Regions from separate parts of the Homo sapiens genome. Here regions 1, 2, 3 and 5 are each linked to region 4. Evidence: promoter capture Hi-C in human tissues and cell types (Jung and others, 2019). All regions are on one chromosome and are shown on one strand. The core of a region is centred on a gene start or on the middle of the fragment in contact, and the rest is flanking DNA. Distances in the headings are between cores, read along the strand shown.

Region 1 (2,700 bases), core at 147-2,646, 750 kb after region 4:
AGTCACTCAAGCCCAGGAGTTTGAGGCTGCAGTGAGCTACATTCATATCACTCATTCCAGCCTGGGTGACAGGATGAGACCCTATCTCTTAAAAAATAATAATAATTGGCCAGGCGCGGTGGCTCACGCCTGTAATCCCAACACTTTGGGAGGCCGAGGTGGGCAGATCACCTGAGGTCAGGGGTTCAAGACAAGCCTGGCTAACATGGTGAAACCCCATCTCTACTAAAAATACAAAAAAGTAGCCAGTTGTGGTGGCACGTGCCTGTAATCCCAGGTACTCGGGGGGCTAAAACAGGAGAATCACTTGAACCGGGAGGCGGAAACTGTGGTGAGCAGAGATCACGCCACTGCACTCCAGGCTAGGTGACAGAGTGAGACTCCATCTCAAAAAATAATAATAATAATAACAACAACTTAAAAAAATAAAATTAGTCTGGGTACAGTGGCTCATACCTGTAATCTCAACACTTTGGGAGGCTGATGCAGGTGGATCACTTAAGCCCAAGAGTTTGAGACCACCCTGAGCAATATAGTGAGATCCCATCTCTATTCTAAAAAACCGATTAATTAATTTAAAAAGAGTGAAAACATCACCCACAGAATAGCAGAAAATATCTGCAGATCATACATCTGATAAAGGATTAATACATGGAACATATAAAGTACTTGTATAACTCGACAACAACAAAAATAACCCAATTCATAAATGGGCAAAGGCCTTAGACATTTCTCTGAAGATTTACAAATGGCCAAAAAATATGCAAAAAGATGCTCAACTTCATTAGTCATTAGGGAAATGCAAATCAAAGCCACAATGAGAAACTACTTCACATCCAAGTTATAAAAAAAAAAAAAAAATAGAAAATAAGTGTTGGCAAGGATATGAAGAAATTGTAACACTTGTGCACTGCTGGTGAGAATGTAAAGAAGACAGTATGGCAATTCCTCAAAAAGTTAAACATAGAATTACCATATGATTCAACAATTCCACTTTTAGGTCTATACCCAAAAGAACTGAAAGGAGGAATCCAAAACAGATATTTATACACCAATGTTCACAGCATTATTCACAATAACCAAATGGTGTCTACGACCCATGTCCATCAACAGATAAATGGATAAAGATATGCGGTATATACATACAGTGAAATATTATTCAGCCTTAAAAAGGAATGAAATTCTGATGCATGTCACAACATGGATGAATCTTGAAAACATTTTGCTAAGTGAAATAAGCCAGGCACAAAAGGGAAAAAATTATATAATTATAATTCCACTTACATAAAATAAAACAGGGCTGGGCACAGTTGCTTAAGCCTGTAATTCCAGCATTTTGGGAGGCTGAGGCAGGTGGATCACTTGAGGTCAGGAGTTCGAGATCAACCTGGCCAACATGGTGAAACCCCATCTTTACCAAAAATACAAAAATTAGCCGGCCGTGGTGGCGGGCACCTGTAATCCCAGCTACTTGAGAGGCTGAGGCAGGAGAATCACTTAAACCTGGGAGGCGGAGGCTGCAGTGAGCCAAGACTGGGCCACTGCACTCCAGCCTCGGTGACAGAGTGAGACTGAGTCTCAAAAATAAAATAAAATAAAATAGGCGAATTCATTGAGACAAAAAGATTATTAAGAACGTACAAGGGGCTGGGGGAGGTGAGAATGGGGTGTTACTATATAATGGGGAGAGTTCCTATTTGGGATGATGAAAGTAGTTCTCAAAACATCATTGTGAATGTATTTAATGCCACTGCATCATACCCTTCAAAATAGTTAAAATTCTACATTTTCTCATGTATATTTACTACAATTTAAAAATTTCATTTACAATAGCATCAAAAAAATCAAATGTCTTGGGTCAAATTTAACAAAACGTGAAAGAATTCTACATTAAAAACAATGAAATAATGTAGCAAGATAGTAAAGAAGGCATAAATCAAGAAATATGCCTCACACAGCACATGGATTAGAAGGCTCAATATAGTTAAGATGTCAATTCTCCCCAAATGAATCTATAAATTCAGTGGAATCTCAACCATAATGGCAGGAGACTTTTTTACAGAAATTGACAAGCTAATTCTAAAATTTATATGGTAATAAAAAGAAACTGTAATATTCAAATAAATCTTGATAAACAATAAAGTTGGGTTATTTACACTGCCTCATGTCAAGACTTCCTATAAAGCTACAGTAGTGGGGTACTGGCATATGGATAAACAAATAGATCAATGGAACAGAACACAGATTTCACAAACAGGCCCATATCTACAGAGTCAATTGTTTTTGGGATTTTTGCCAGCGACAAATCAGGATATAACAGTCAATTGTTTTTCGACAAAAGTACCAAAGCAAACCAATGGGGAGAGAAAATTTTGGTAGTTTTAAACTATGTCAAATTTTTTTACATTCTTCCCTCTAAAAAGTGAAATCCTCCTCTCTCCTTGAGTACAGGCTAGACTTAGGGACTCATTCTAATGAAAAGAATATGGCAGAAGTGACAGTGTATGACTAGGTCATAAGAGGCTTCATGGTTTCTTCCTTACTTTGTCTTAGATCATTTCTGTAGGAGATAACTGCACGCCATGAGGAAACTCAAAGAGCCCTGTGTATAACTTGTTAGCTTTAAAGTAGGGAAAATTTAAAAACAAACAAACAAAAGCCCTGGGTAGAGATAAACAATATGGAACTGAGGCTTCCTGC
Region 2 (2,806 bases), core at 238-2,737, 670 kb after region 4:
ATCAAAGCTACAAGGCTTCTGGGATGGACCCTGTATGCACTTTCAAGGGCCAGTCTAGCCCCCTGCACAGATACTTGTGAAAAAAATTTCCCCTGGGAAGCAGGCCCAGACTTGGTAGTTATCACCGGTGCCTCTGTTTAGTGGCCCAGGCACCGGGCTCAGATCTAACACATACGCTCTGTGAGAGCAGTGGGTGATGAAGCTTGCCCCACCTCATCTCTCAAATGAGAATGCTAAGGCTCAGAGCCATCACATTACCCAGCCAGGGGCCCTGGCTAGGCATTCAGACTCCAAATCTGGGCTCTCACCTGCACAAAGGCATATGCTAGGTTAGAGGGGTAGATCAGGCTCAGGAGGGGTCACTGCCTGCTGTGTGCGTGCATCTGTGTGGTCCTGACACTGCTTCAGTGCTAGAGCAGACGTGCTAATAGAGGCCTAAGTGGGCAATGTCTATGTGTTCCTAGGGCTTCCCAGCTGTGCTCAAGAGGGCAAGGTCACTGCCCCATGCCCACTGAGCCTCTGGCTCCCCGACTTTTTTCTCATCCTAGAATAGGAGAATGGGGCCAACCCCCTCCTGAAGGCAGATGGGGATCAGGGTTGGGGGCACTTACCAGGGACCCCTAAGCATTGAGTCAGAAGCAGCAGGAGTGGGAGCCACCCCATCCTTCTGGCTGGAGGCTGCACTGTGACCCACCACAGCCCCATCCGGGAAGTTGTGAAACCTGTCCCTACGGGATTGGGTGGCTCTGGCTCCACACGTCAGCTCAGGGCCTGCTGGACCCTGACCTGAGACCTGGTGACAGGAGCCATGAGGGGCCAGGCCTCAGGTCCCATAGGTCAGTTGCAAGGGCCTAGTACAGCTTAGTGGACAGGTGTTAGGAAGGTTTGGTGGGGACACTTGAGGTGCCCTGGGGTTGGGGTGAAACCCCTCTGCAGCCTAGTCAGCCCAAGGGCATTGTGAAAGTGAGAGCTGCCAGAGGTCTGGGCTCCAGCCCCTGGGTGACATTAAACTTTTCTGAATTTCGGTTTTTCCCTGTAAATTGGGGAAAATTACTTGCCCCAGCTTCAACACTGCCTCCCCTCCACCCTTTTGCTGCTGCCTTATCAGGCCCCAGCTGTAGGCAGGTCAGCCCACACCCGGCGGCAGAGCCCAGAGAGGCTCGCTCATCTCAGCCGCCAGAAGTGTCATCCCAGGGAAGGTGAGCGAGGCTGTCCACTAGGACTAAATAGGGGTGGAGGTAACAGGTAGCAGGGACTCTGGCAGGAACGGCCTTTCAGACGTTTTAAGGACCGTCTGAGCGGGGCCTCTAAGTATGGGTAGGAGACAGGCGGCCTAGGGATTCCGGTTAGCATGTCGCGTTCTGCCGCAGCAGGGCTGGGAGCATCCCCAGAGCAGGCGGAGGTCGGAGGTGGTGAGGCCTTTCGGCGAAGCTGAGGCCTGGAACAACCCGGTGGGAAGCCATGGAGGGGGTCCCCTAGCGGAGGCTGGGCGCGGGCCAGTGCGCGTGCGCGGCTGGAGGCTCAGCGCGCAAGCGTGCGCGTGATTTGGCCCTGAACGGACGCCGTAGCCAAGAGGTTGGGCGGATGTTGTGAGCCGGGTCGCTGCGGCCGAGGCTCCGGGTGAGTGAGGGGCGGCAGGGCTCTGAGCCTGGCGGGTTCCGGCTATTCCCTTCGCGGTCCGGGCTAGTCCAGTGCGAGGGCACCTGCAGCGCAGGGATCTGGGTGCGAAACTCCGAGCGGAAGCTGGTCTGGCAGGTCCTGTGGAGCTTGGGGCCAGGCGGGGGCGACTTGGGGGAGCCATGCGCCGCCCTCGCCGTCCTTGGGCTCCCAGACGGAGTAGGTTCAGTTCTGAGTCCGGATACCCCGGCGGGGTTGGACGGGATAGCCGTGACAGGGAGTCCCCGGGCGGGGACAAGGTCCGCCTCTCACCTGGGTCCTCAGCAACTGACTCCCGGAGCCCACTCCGGGTGTCTGGAAGGTCTGCTCATCAAATGAATGACTGAGTTTAATCAGATCTTCAACTACTCTGGTAGTGAAGGGGCACCGATCATGGACGCCCACCGAGGGCCCGAGGTCGGGAAAATCACCTTCCCGAGGAGCAGGCGTGGTGCAGACCCACAAGGGTTTGTGGCGGGAGTAGAGGGTCTGTTTGGGGTGAGATAAGAGACTGAACTGCAGAGTAGGGAGTGCTGGCTAAGGCAGTGCTGCAGAGCGAAACTCTAGACCTGCGCTGTCTAATAGAACTTTATATGATGGTGGGAACGTTCTACCTTTGTGCTGTCCAACAGAGTAACCATTAGCCACATGTGGTCATTGAACTCTTGAAATGTGGCTAAGGCAACTGAGAAATCGAATTGTTAATTTTTAAAACTTTAAATTTAAGTAACCTCATGTGGATGACGGCTGCTGTGTTGGACAGCACCGCTACACATCAGTGAGGCCAGCACCAGGGACTCAGTGCAGGTTCTGGAGCAGCTGCAGCAGCAACATGATGTGAGGGATAGATGCACTAGGAGGACCAATGGAGTTTGCCATGAGGGCTGGGCAAGGGTGGTGCTTGGATGAGGTGGGAGGCCACATGTGTGAGTGGGAATGGTGAAACTATCAGGACCATGGATAAAAGAAGGGAGGAACCCAGGGCTGAGGAAAGAGGCTCCAGCCTTGTGGGGAGTAAGTGGGACTTATGGCTAGAGATGACCAGACCAGTGGTGGTCTGCACTTGGGGGAATGTGTAGGATTGTCGCTTCTGGTTGTGAGCTGGACTCAGTATGGCTTACAACTGAGATGGATACAGGGGCTCTGCCCC
Region 3 (2,700 bases), core at 93-2,592, 710 kb after region 4:
TTGCCCAGGCCTAAGAAATAAGGAAGACATCTTGGTAGCACTACTACAAAAACAAGGAAACCAGATTCTAACATTCCCAAATAGGAATCTTTAGAAAAAGCTGGATTTACATTTCTTTTCTTTTTTTTTAGGATGCAGTCTTGCTCCTTTGCCCAGGCTGGAGTGCAGTAGCACAATTTCAGCTCACTGCAACCTCTGCCTCCCAGGTTCAAGTGATCCTCCTGCCTTAGCCTCCCAAGTAGCTGGAACTATAGGCGCATGCCACCATGCCCGACTAATTTTTTGTATTTTTTTTTTTGAGATGGAGTTTCACTCTTGTTGCCTAGGCTGGAGTGCAATGGCGCAATCTTGGCTCATCGCAACCTCCGCCTCTTGAGTTCAAATGATTCTCCTGTCTCAGCCTCCCGAGCAGCTAGGATTACAGGCATGCACCACTACACCTGGCTAATTTTGTGTACAGACGGGGTTTCTCCATGTTGGTCAGGCTGGTCTCAAACTCCCAACCTCAGGTGATCTGCCGGCCTCGGCCTCCCAAAGTGCTGGGATTACAGGAATGAGCCTGGATTTATATTTCTGTCTTGCCATTTGTCACTCAATTTGAAACCAGTGAATGAGAGAGAGAGATCTCGTTCACTGGTTTCAAATTTATATATATAAATATATTTATATATAAAATATAAATTTATCCCTTAATAGTTCTATAACCTTCTGCTCAAAACGATCTATGGTCCTAACTCCCTGGCATTTACATACATGTCTTCATTCCAATATATCCTATTTGCAACAATCTTATCTTTGAACTTTTGTGTAAAGGTACAGACTTATCATATGTCTGCCAAAGTCACTGGGTTTCACAGCCCAGCCCTCAAATCCATCTCTGGGTGCTACAGAGCAATCGCATCTTAGCAGATAGACACTCAGCATCACTGTGATGATGAACATTTCATTCTTTTGAAAGTAACTTTTAAATTTGGCCTGAATCAATTCTGTTGCCTGCTATTACCTATAAACATGTGATGGTAAAATATGGAGGAGGCTGCAGAAATATCTCAACACCCTGGAAGCATGGGCTCTGGAATCCTGCCTTGACCACTCACTACCTCTAGGCACAACACTTAATCCCCCTGTGCTTCCACTTCCTCATCTATAACATGGGAATGATGAGAGTTCCTTCCTCAAAAGATTGCTGTGAAAATTAACTACGTACAAAAGGTTCAGCACACTTTCCCTCAGTTTCTTAGAATAATCCAGTTGTTATTTGTCTACTACTTCAAAACACTAACAATTGTAAGAATTCCCATTCTAGGCTGGGCGTGGTGGCGCACGCCTGTAATCCCAGCTACTGGGGTGGCTAAGGCATGAAAATCTCTTGAACCCGGGAGGCGGAGGTTGCAGTGAGCCGAGATCGCACCGCTGCACTTTGGCCTGGGTAACAGAGTGAGACTCTGTCTCAAAAAAAAAAAAAAAAAAGGAATTCCTATGCCATAATACTTTTTTATCTTTTCTGGAGATGAGACAGGGTCTTGCTGTGTTGCCCAGGCTAGAAGCTAGAATGTAGTGGTGCAATCATGGCCCACTGCAGTCTCGACTTCCTGGGCTCAAGCAATCCTCCCACCTCAGAGCTGGGACTACTACAAGCACACACCACCACATCCAACTAATTTTTTTATTTTTTGTAGAGATGAAGTCTCACTATGTTGCTCAGGCTGGTTTCAAACACCTGGTCTCAAGTGATCCTCCTGCCTCAGCCTCCCAAAGTGCTGGGATTACAGGTGTGACCCACCACGCCCAGCTATCTTTAACATTTTAAATCTATTTTATGGTGTTTATCATCAGATAAAAATCTCACCAAAGTCAAATATATCACCTTTAAACTATTAATCCCTTGGGAGGGGAAAACTACACACATGCACACAAGCGCATATGGGCACATACGCAGATCTGTGATTGTGGACATGATCAATATAGTACCACTAGCCACACTAGCCACATGTGATGATTTAAATTTTAATTAATAAAATAAAATTTAAATTAACTGCCTTAGTCACAGTAGCCACATTTTAGCCACTCAGTGTGGCCAGTGGCTACCATACTGAAAAGCACACAGAATTACAGACAGTTCTATCAGACAACACTGTTCTAGACTGCCAAGTTTTAAGCTTCGGCCTTACCAAATCCAAAAGGCAGGAAAAAAACATGTTGATGAAAGTAAACGAAGGAAGAGGAGTCCATGAAAAAGGGAGATTAAACCGAAGAGGGACCCTAGACAAAGACCTCAGCCATAGGCAGAATGGTGCCCCAACACACGACCTATGGACCCAGTAGACACTCCTGAAGGAGGGGCAACGAGGATACTGTAGAGCTTTCGGTCCTTGGACTCGGAGCGCATGCGGCTCAGCTGCTGCTTGTGACAACGCAGGCTCCAGGGGTTGTGGCTGATCTTCTCAGAACTCAAGCCACTGTTGCCATCTAGCATCTGGAAAGGGACCTCTGAGTGGCTGTGCAGCTCCACCTTCGGACTCTTTGCCTCCTGTGAGCTAAGAAGGAAGAACATACACATCACTAAGAAACTCAGGCAAGTCATCCTCTGGGGTCCCGCTGCACAGGGCACAGATCTGTCCACAATGACAGACCCACAGACCCTGCTAATGGGTTGCATTAAGGTCCCATGAGCCAATAAAAATGAGTAAATGTTATGAG
Region 4 (2,905 bases), core at 255-2,754:
TGCACCTGCTGTACATGCCCTCTCAAGTCCAGCAACTCCCCCAAGGTCAAGTGTTGGTTTCTGTCAGCTAACAAGCCCCTCGGTGGGTTTTCAAGGGCCCTCTGAGGTTGGGGGTTAGGTGGTGGGGAGCTCCACCATCATTATTAACCTACCTGTCTGAGTGGAGCCTTGTCAACCAACTTCTGCCAAAGCAGGTCCAACTTCTGTTGCTGGAACTCCTCCTCACAGCTAACAACATGTACAACCAGGCAGCCGCCTGTACCAGTATCTGAGGCCCCAGCCTAAGGGAGGACAATCATAACTGTGGAAGTACAGTATACTTGGTTTGGGAGAACCTACAGGGCTGGGAGTCACTAACCAGGCCTGGGTGGCTGTCCTCGGGCCAATGCCATAGAGCCTCTTGCAGCTCAGCCAGCACAGAGAGGAGATCCTCAGTCACTGAAAAGAGAACAGACAGGTGCTGAGACTGACAAGAAGCAGAGATGTGCCCCTAACCCCCTCCTGCCTTTTCTGGCCCTGCTAGGCTTCAGGTCCTACCCAGACAGTTGTCCAGGTTGGGGTCATAGCCAGCTGTGCGGCCCTGTTCTTCCACCAGCTCCTTCAGACACAGTCTGCCTAGGATGCCAGGGGACAGTGTCCTCCCGTCATTAGCAGAGGTAAGTTCTTCAAGGGCGTGGCTCCTCAGGGTGTGGGAGGAAGCTCTCTCCGAGGCAGCGGGCCAGTCCACCCGCAGTTGCTGCAGGAAGGTCAGCATGTGCGGATCCCGCACAGCTGGCACTAGGCGCACGCACACCCTGCGAAGGGAGGGCGGCCGCCTCAGTCTGAGCACCTGGTCCAGCTCGCCACGACTTCCCACCTCCAGCCGCAGTCCCCACGGGCGGCGCCGCTCGCTTTCTAGGTACCCGGCAGTCCCACTTTCTCCATTCCGGCCCCGCGGCCCCGCTCACCCGTGAGCGCGCAGGGCTCGCGCCAGGTGATCGGCCACGAGCACCGTACGCAGCTGGCTCAAGCGGAGTGCGCAGGGGGAGCTGCGCAGTGCTGGGCAGTGTAGTAAGACGCGCTGGCCCAGCGAGGCAGGCGAGGCGGGCGTGGCATAGGCGGCCACGGCGCTGAGGACGCGCTCGAAGACGGCGGACCGCTGCAGTTGGAGAGACAGACCCGCGGGGGTCGGCGCGCAGCGCAGCACCGGGGCCACACCGGGGCCCTGCAGGCAGGCGAGGGCATGGAGCAAATGCTCCGGAACCTGCGGGAGAACGGGCGTGTAAAAGAGCCACGGCACGGGGCCCATCTCCCGGCCGCACGGCCCCGCCCGGCTCACGCCCACCTGGCCGTCATCGAAGCGCGCCTGCAGCGCGCGGTGCGGTGCCAGAAAGTCTCGGGAACGCAGGTGGCGGGTGCGCGTCTCCTTGATCCACACCGGACCGCCTGGCCCCAGGGCCGCGTTGAGGGCCCCCAGCGTCTCCCCGACCCCAAGGCGCCTGGTCGCCATGGTGACCGGAAGGAGTAAGCGGAACCGGAAAAAAATTTAGGGAGGTGGAACTTCCGGAAAGGACCGACTAGCTGGGGCGGGGATGCGGCGGTGGTCCCCGTAAGTGGACAGGTGCGCCAGTGGTAGCCCTGTCGGCTGCTTTCGACCTACCGCCCCCAGCGCCCCTTCCGCGTGGTCCACCTGCACAGCCGGGCCCCGGATCTGAAATCTCGGGGCCCTCCCTGGGCCTAGGGTTCTTTCGCTGTGACCCAGGCCTTAACCAGGAAAAGGATCCTCGCGACCCGGTGGGCGCTTAGACCGGGTACCGTCTCTTCTCATCGAAGTCTCACATGTTTGTTTTAATAACATTTCATTTCTCCCATTTTACACATGATGAATATTCGTCACTGGAATAAGGCAGTATAACATTAAGGCCACTTTCACGACCTACTTAAAATATCTCGTTTTAAAAAGAATAGTGTTCCGCGGTTTCAGGTTATTTGCAAGCATTTTCTCGTTTGAGATATGGGTGTTTTTTTGTTTGTTTGAGACGGAGTCTTGCTCTTGTCTCCCAGGCTGGAGTGCAGTGGCACGATCTCGGCTCACTGCAGCCTCCACCTCCCGGATTCACAGGATTCTCCTCCTCAGCCTCCCGAGTAGCTGGGATTACGGGCGCCCGCCACCACGCCCGGCTAATTTTTGTATTTTTAGTAGAGACGGGGTTTCGCCATGTTGGCCAGGCTGGTCTCGAACTCCTGACCTCGTGACCTGCCCGCCTCGGCCTCCGAAAGTGCTGGGATTACAGGCATCAGCCACTGCACCCAGCCCGGGTGGTCTTTATGCCCAATAAATAAGCACTCTGATACAGTTGGCGGTTTTCTTCTCTTGATACCTGAGAAATCACAACCATCATGATGGCTTCCAGAATTACCAGACTTTTTTTTTTTTTTTTTGAGACGGAGTTTCGCTCCTGTTGCCCAGGCTGGAGTACAGTGGTGTGATCTTGGCTCACCGCAACCTCCCCCTCCCGGGTTCAAGTGATTATCCTGCCTCAGTCTCCCAAGTAGCTGGGATTACAGGCACGCGCCACCACGCCCGGCTACTTTTGTATTTTTAATAGAGACGGGGTTTCTCCATGTTTGTCAAGCCTCGAACTCCCGACCTCAGGTGATCCGCCTGCCTCGGCCTCCCAAAGTGCTGGGATTACAGGCGTGAGCCACCGCGCCCGGCTCAGAATGACCAGCTTTTAATGTGACTCCTTTAACCTGGTGTGCTTTAACAACGATCCTTAAAGCTTCCTGTTTTAGGCAACAGCCATTTACGGGCCAACCAAATAATGCGACCATAATAGAAAATAGGCCTCAGTTGGAGTATCTTGCTCCTCTACCAATAGGAAAGGTCTTTTTCTTTCTCCCACAAAGGTTCCCAAATGTCTTC
Region 5 (2,700 bases), core at 193-2,692, 540 kb after region 4:
GCCTAAGTCAGTTGCCAAGGGTCCTATCGGGGCTGAGGTGCAGACTCTTTTGGAGCCTAAATGTGCACATGTAGTCACCACTCACGAAGCTGTATCAAACATCCTGCAGCACAGGAGGAAACACAGCAAGGACCATCATCTGCAGGAAGAGAGGCTCTCTTCATCCTAGGTCATCCCAGAGGGGCCAGGCAGTTTAGCGTGAAAACGGGAGGTATGAAGTCAGGAGAAAATATCAGGAAGTGGGGGCTCTGCATTTCCTCTTTCTCTTACTTGCTCCATCCCAGAGGTCGGGAGGAGCAGCTCGGAGTGCACAGGGGAAGGCCCAGGGAGGGTCCTGGCCCCTCCTCACAAGAACTGACACAGCCACCGGTCTGTCCAGCAGGCTGGCTATCAGCATTCACTGGGATCCCTGGATTATTCTAGGTTCAGTTAGAACTGCTAACACCCTATGTGATATATTTCGCAACATTAGGAGAATTGAATGGGTTTGTAAAATGGGTTCAAGTTACTCACGCCTTTCTACACAGTCATGATTTATGACGTCAGAGATGAACTGGAATATAGGCTCCTAGGAAATATTCTCCCACAGGAAAGTACAGGCTTGTGTGAGAAGCCACCACGGCAGACAATCCTGAGTAGCGGGCAGAAACCGGCTGTAAATGTGAGGGAGCGGGGAAGTAATTTGGAAAGCTCTCAGGGTAATGCAGAGGCAACCTGCGGCCCCGCATCGAGACAGCTCCAGGCCTGAGAACCATCAAGTCCTCTTTTCCATCCCCAAGGTCACTCTCCCAGGGCTGACTGAGGTGGCCTCCCAGCTGGCTTCACACAGCCCTGTCACACCTTCCATCTGTGCCCGGGGCGCTTCCTGAGACTCCCAGTTCCTCAGTGTGAATCCCAGATGGTTCCCATCGCCATCTGGATAAAGGCTCCACTCCCCAGCTGGCCTTAAAGACCCTCACAATCCGGCCCGACCACCCAGCACCCTCCCTCTCCTTCCCTCTACGACCTTGCGTCTCTGAATACACTTGTTCCTCTGCCTTCCCAACTCCTATGCATACTTTTGAGGCCATTCTCGGGTAGCCCCTCTCCTCTCCGAGGCCTGTCCTTATGACGCCTGCCCGCTGTGGCACTCCGGTTACCCGGAGGAGAGTTGCTACTCTCGAGTTCACCGAGGCGGAAAGCCCCTCTGACTCCAAAGCAGGGCTCAGCGCGACGTCCCAGAGGCCGCTTCTAGTGGCAGGTGCCCCTCCTCACAGGGCCCTCGCAGCCCCGCCGGCCCCCGCCCGGCTCCTTCTCAGCATGATACAACCGCGTCGGCCCTGGACAGCGCATGCGCGGGCGCCGGCGGCTGTTTCCCAGCGACCCCGAGGCTGGCGGGAGCGCGCACAGGGGAAGGGGGGCGTGTGCAGGGAAGGGGGCGCGAGACGCGCATGCGCAGCGGCAGGCGGCGGCGCGAGCCGAGCTGGGAGATGGCGGCGGCAGCGGCGGCGCCGAGAGTGTGAGCACCGCCCGGGAGCCGCCGGCCCGGGCGCAGCGCGACCCCGACCCCGCCCGCCCGCCTGCCCGCCATGGGCAACGAGGTCAGCCTGGAGGGCGGCGCTGGCGACGGGCCGCTGCCGCCCGGCGGCGCCGGCCCCGGCCCGGGCCCCGGCCCCGGCCCCGGCGCAGGAAAGCCGCCTTCAGCACCGGCCGGTGGCGGACAGCTCCCCGCGGCGGGAGCAGCGCGGTCGACCGCGGTACCACCGGTCCCTGGCCCCGGCCCCGGCCCCGGTCCCGGCCCTGGCCCGGGCAGGTAAGCGCGTGTCTCGGCGCCCGGGGGGCGGTGAGCTGCAGCCTGAGGCCGGGACCCGGGCCCAGGATCCCGCGATCTAGTGTGGACAGCGAGGTTCGACGTCCGGCCGCACTCTGAACCCTGCCGGATTGGCGTGAACTGGGTGGTCGCGGGAAGCGGCCCTTCCTTTCCAGCTGCCCCGCCTTGGCGTGGCAGGATGACGAGCGCAGGGTCAGTCGGGGCCTGCAGACCGTGACTCCGTCACGAACCCCAAATTCGCTTCTCCCCAACGCTCGGGCCTGACTGCTCAGGAGGGGCTTATGTAACCTTAACCTGGTCCCTCCGCACAGGAGAGCAATGGGATGGAAAACGTCCTCCCTGTCTGCTGGTGTCTGCATGTGTCCATTGTGCTGGGCCGAGAAAACAGCACAATGGGAGTGGCTGTCAGGGAAGATAAGTGTCACTGCGAGGAACAGAGAGATGAAAATAGTTGAACCATGAACTTGGTCTTGGGCTTTCCTTGGGCATTTAGTGGCTGTAATCACCTTTGGGGGAAAGGAAAATTGCCCACTGGACACCAAGAGGTGCTTATTTAGGCCCAACAATACTAATAGGATCATGTGCTTTCACCAAGGTTTAGGGAAACATTTTGGGGTGAAGCAAAAATGCTATTGAGTCATCCAGCACCAGATATGTTCTCGTTACCTTATGATTTAGATCAAACCAGTGGAAAAGCTGAAACCCACACAGAATGCTTTAAACAGAACATATCTGATTAAATACTGTGAAACCAGTTTGTTTTAAATGTATGCCAACCCAGGTCCTGCAAAAACAGTCAAGTGGCAATGAAGGCTGTAAGGGAATGCCAATATATAATAAGTCAGTAGACTGAAAACTCAGGAAAACTACTAAGAGATGACACGATAAAA

What was found. The method cuts DNA at HindIII sites, captures the fragments that hold promoters and counts their contacts. A contact is called where the count stands out against the background at its distance.
Region 1: a contact is called between a fragment that was not itself captured here and the fragment with the promoter of DALRD3 in region 4, in 1 of the 25 tissues and cell types used here (pancreas).
Region 2: a contact is called between the fragment with the promoter of MST1 here and the fragment with the promoter of DALRD3 in region 4, in 1 of the 25 tissues and cell types used here (heart right ventricle).
Region 3: a contact is called between a fragment that was not itself captured here and the fragment with the promoter of DALRD3 in region 4, in 1 of the 25 tissues and cell types used here (spleen).
Region 5: a contact is called between the fragment with the promoter of BSN here and the fragment with the promoter of DALRD3 in region 4, in 1 of the 25 tissues and cell types used here (dorsolateral prefrontal cortex).

The regions. Positions count from the first base shown.
Region 1 is chr3:49,767,190-49,769,889 of GRCh38, forward strand. The region is part of intron 1 of IP6K1 (inositol hexakisphosphate kinase 1); the gene reads right to left. Among named protein-coding and RNA genes, the nearest start is that of IP6K1, 18 kb to the right of the region's middle. The HindIII fragment of the contact is 9,567 bases long and covers 1-2,700 here.
Region 2 is chr3:49,687,987-49,690,792 of GRCh38, forward strand. It overlaps MST1 (macrophage stimulating 1), which reads right to left and starts at 1,488. Exons shown (of 18, transcript NM_020998.4): 1 at 612-1,488. The coding sequence starts at 705. RNF123 (ring finger protein 123) reads left to right here and starts at 1,571. Exons shown (of 39, transcript NM_022064.5): 1 at 1,571-1,620. RefSeq lists an enhancer at 842-1,401. The HindIII fragment of the contact is 11,098 bases long and covers 1-2,806 here.
Region 3 is chr3:49,730,436-49,733,135 of GRCh38, forward strand. IP6K1 (inositol hexakisphosphate kinase 1) reads right to left here. Exons shown (of 6, transcript NM_153273.4): 4 at 2,356-2,537. Among named protein-coding and RNA genes, the nearest start is that of GMPPB, 7.8 kb to the left of the region's middle. The HindIII fragment of the contact is 4,827 bases long and covers 1-2,700 here.
Region 4 is chr3:49,017,076-49,019,980 of GRCh38, forward strand. It overlaps DALRD3 (DALR anticodon binding domain containing 3), which reads right to left and starts at 1,505. Exons shown (of 12, transcript NM_001009996.3): 1 at 1,325-1,505; 2 at 948-1,243; 3 at 538-794; 4 at 359-438; 5 at 153-281. The coding sequence starts at 1,489. RefSeq lists an enhancer at 281-1,052 and a silencer at 501-735. The HindIII fragment of the contact is 18,150 bases long and covers 1-2,905 here.
Region 5 is chr3:49,553,035-49,555,734 of GRCh38, forward strand. It overlaps BSN (bassoon presynaptic cytomatrix protein), which reads left to right and starts at 1,443. Exons shown (of 12, transcript NM_003458.4): 1 at 1,443-1,792. The coding sequence starts at 1,569. BSN-DT (BSN divergent transcript) reads right to left here and starts at 1,332. Exons shown (of 3, transcript NR_038866.1): 1 at 1,007-1,332; 2 at 514-653. RefSeq lists silencers at 1,251-1,550, 1,621-1,830. The HindIII fragment of the contact is 7,009 bases long and covers 1-2,700 here.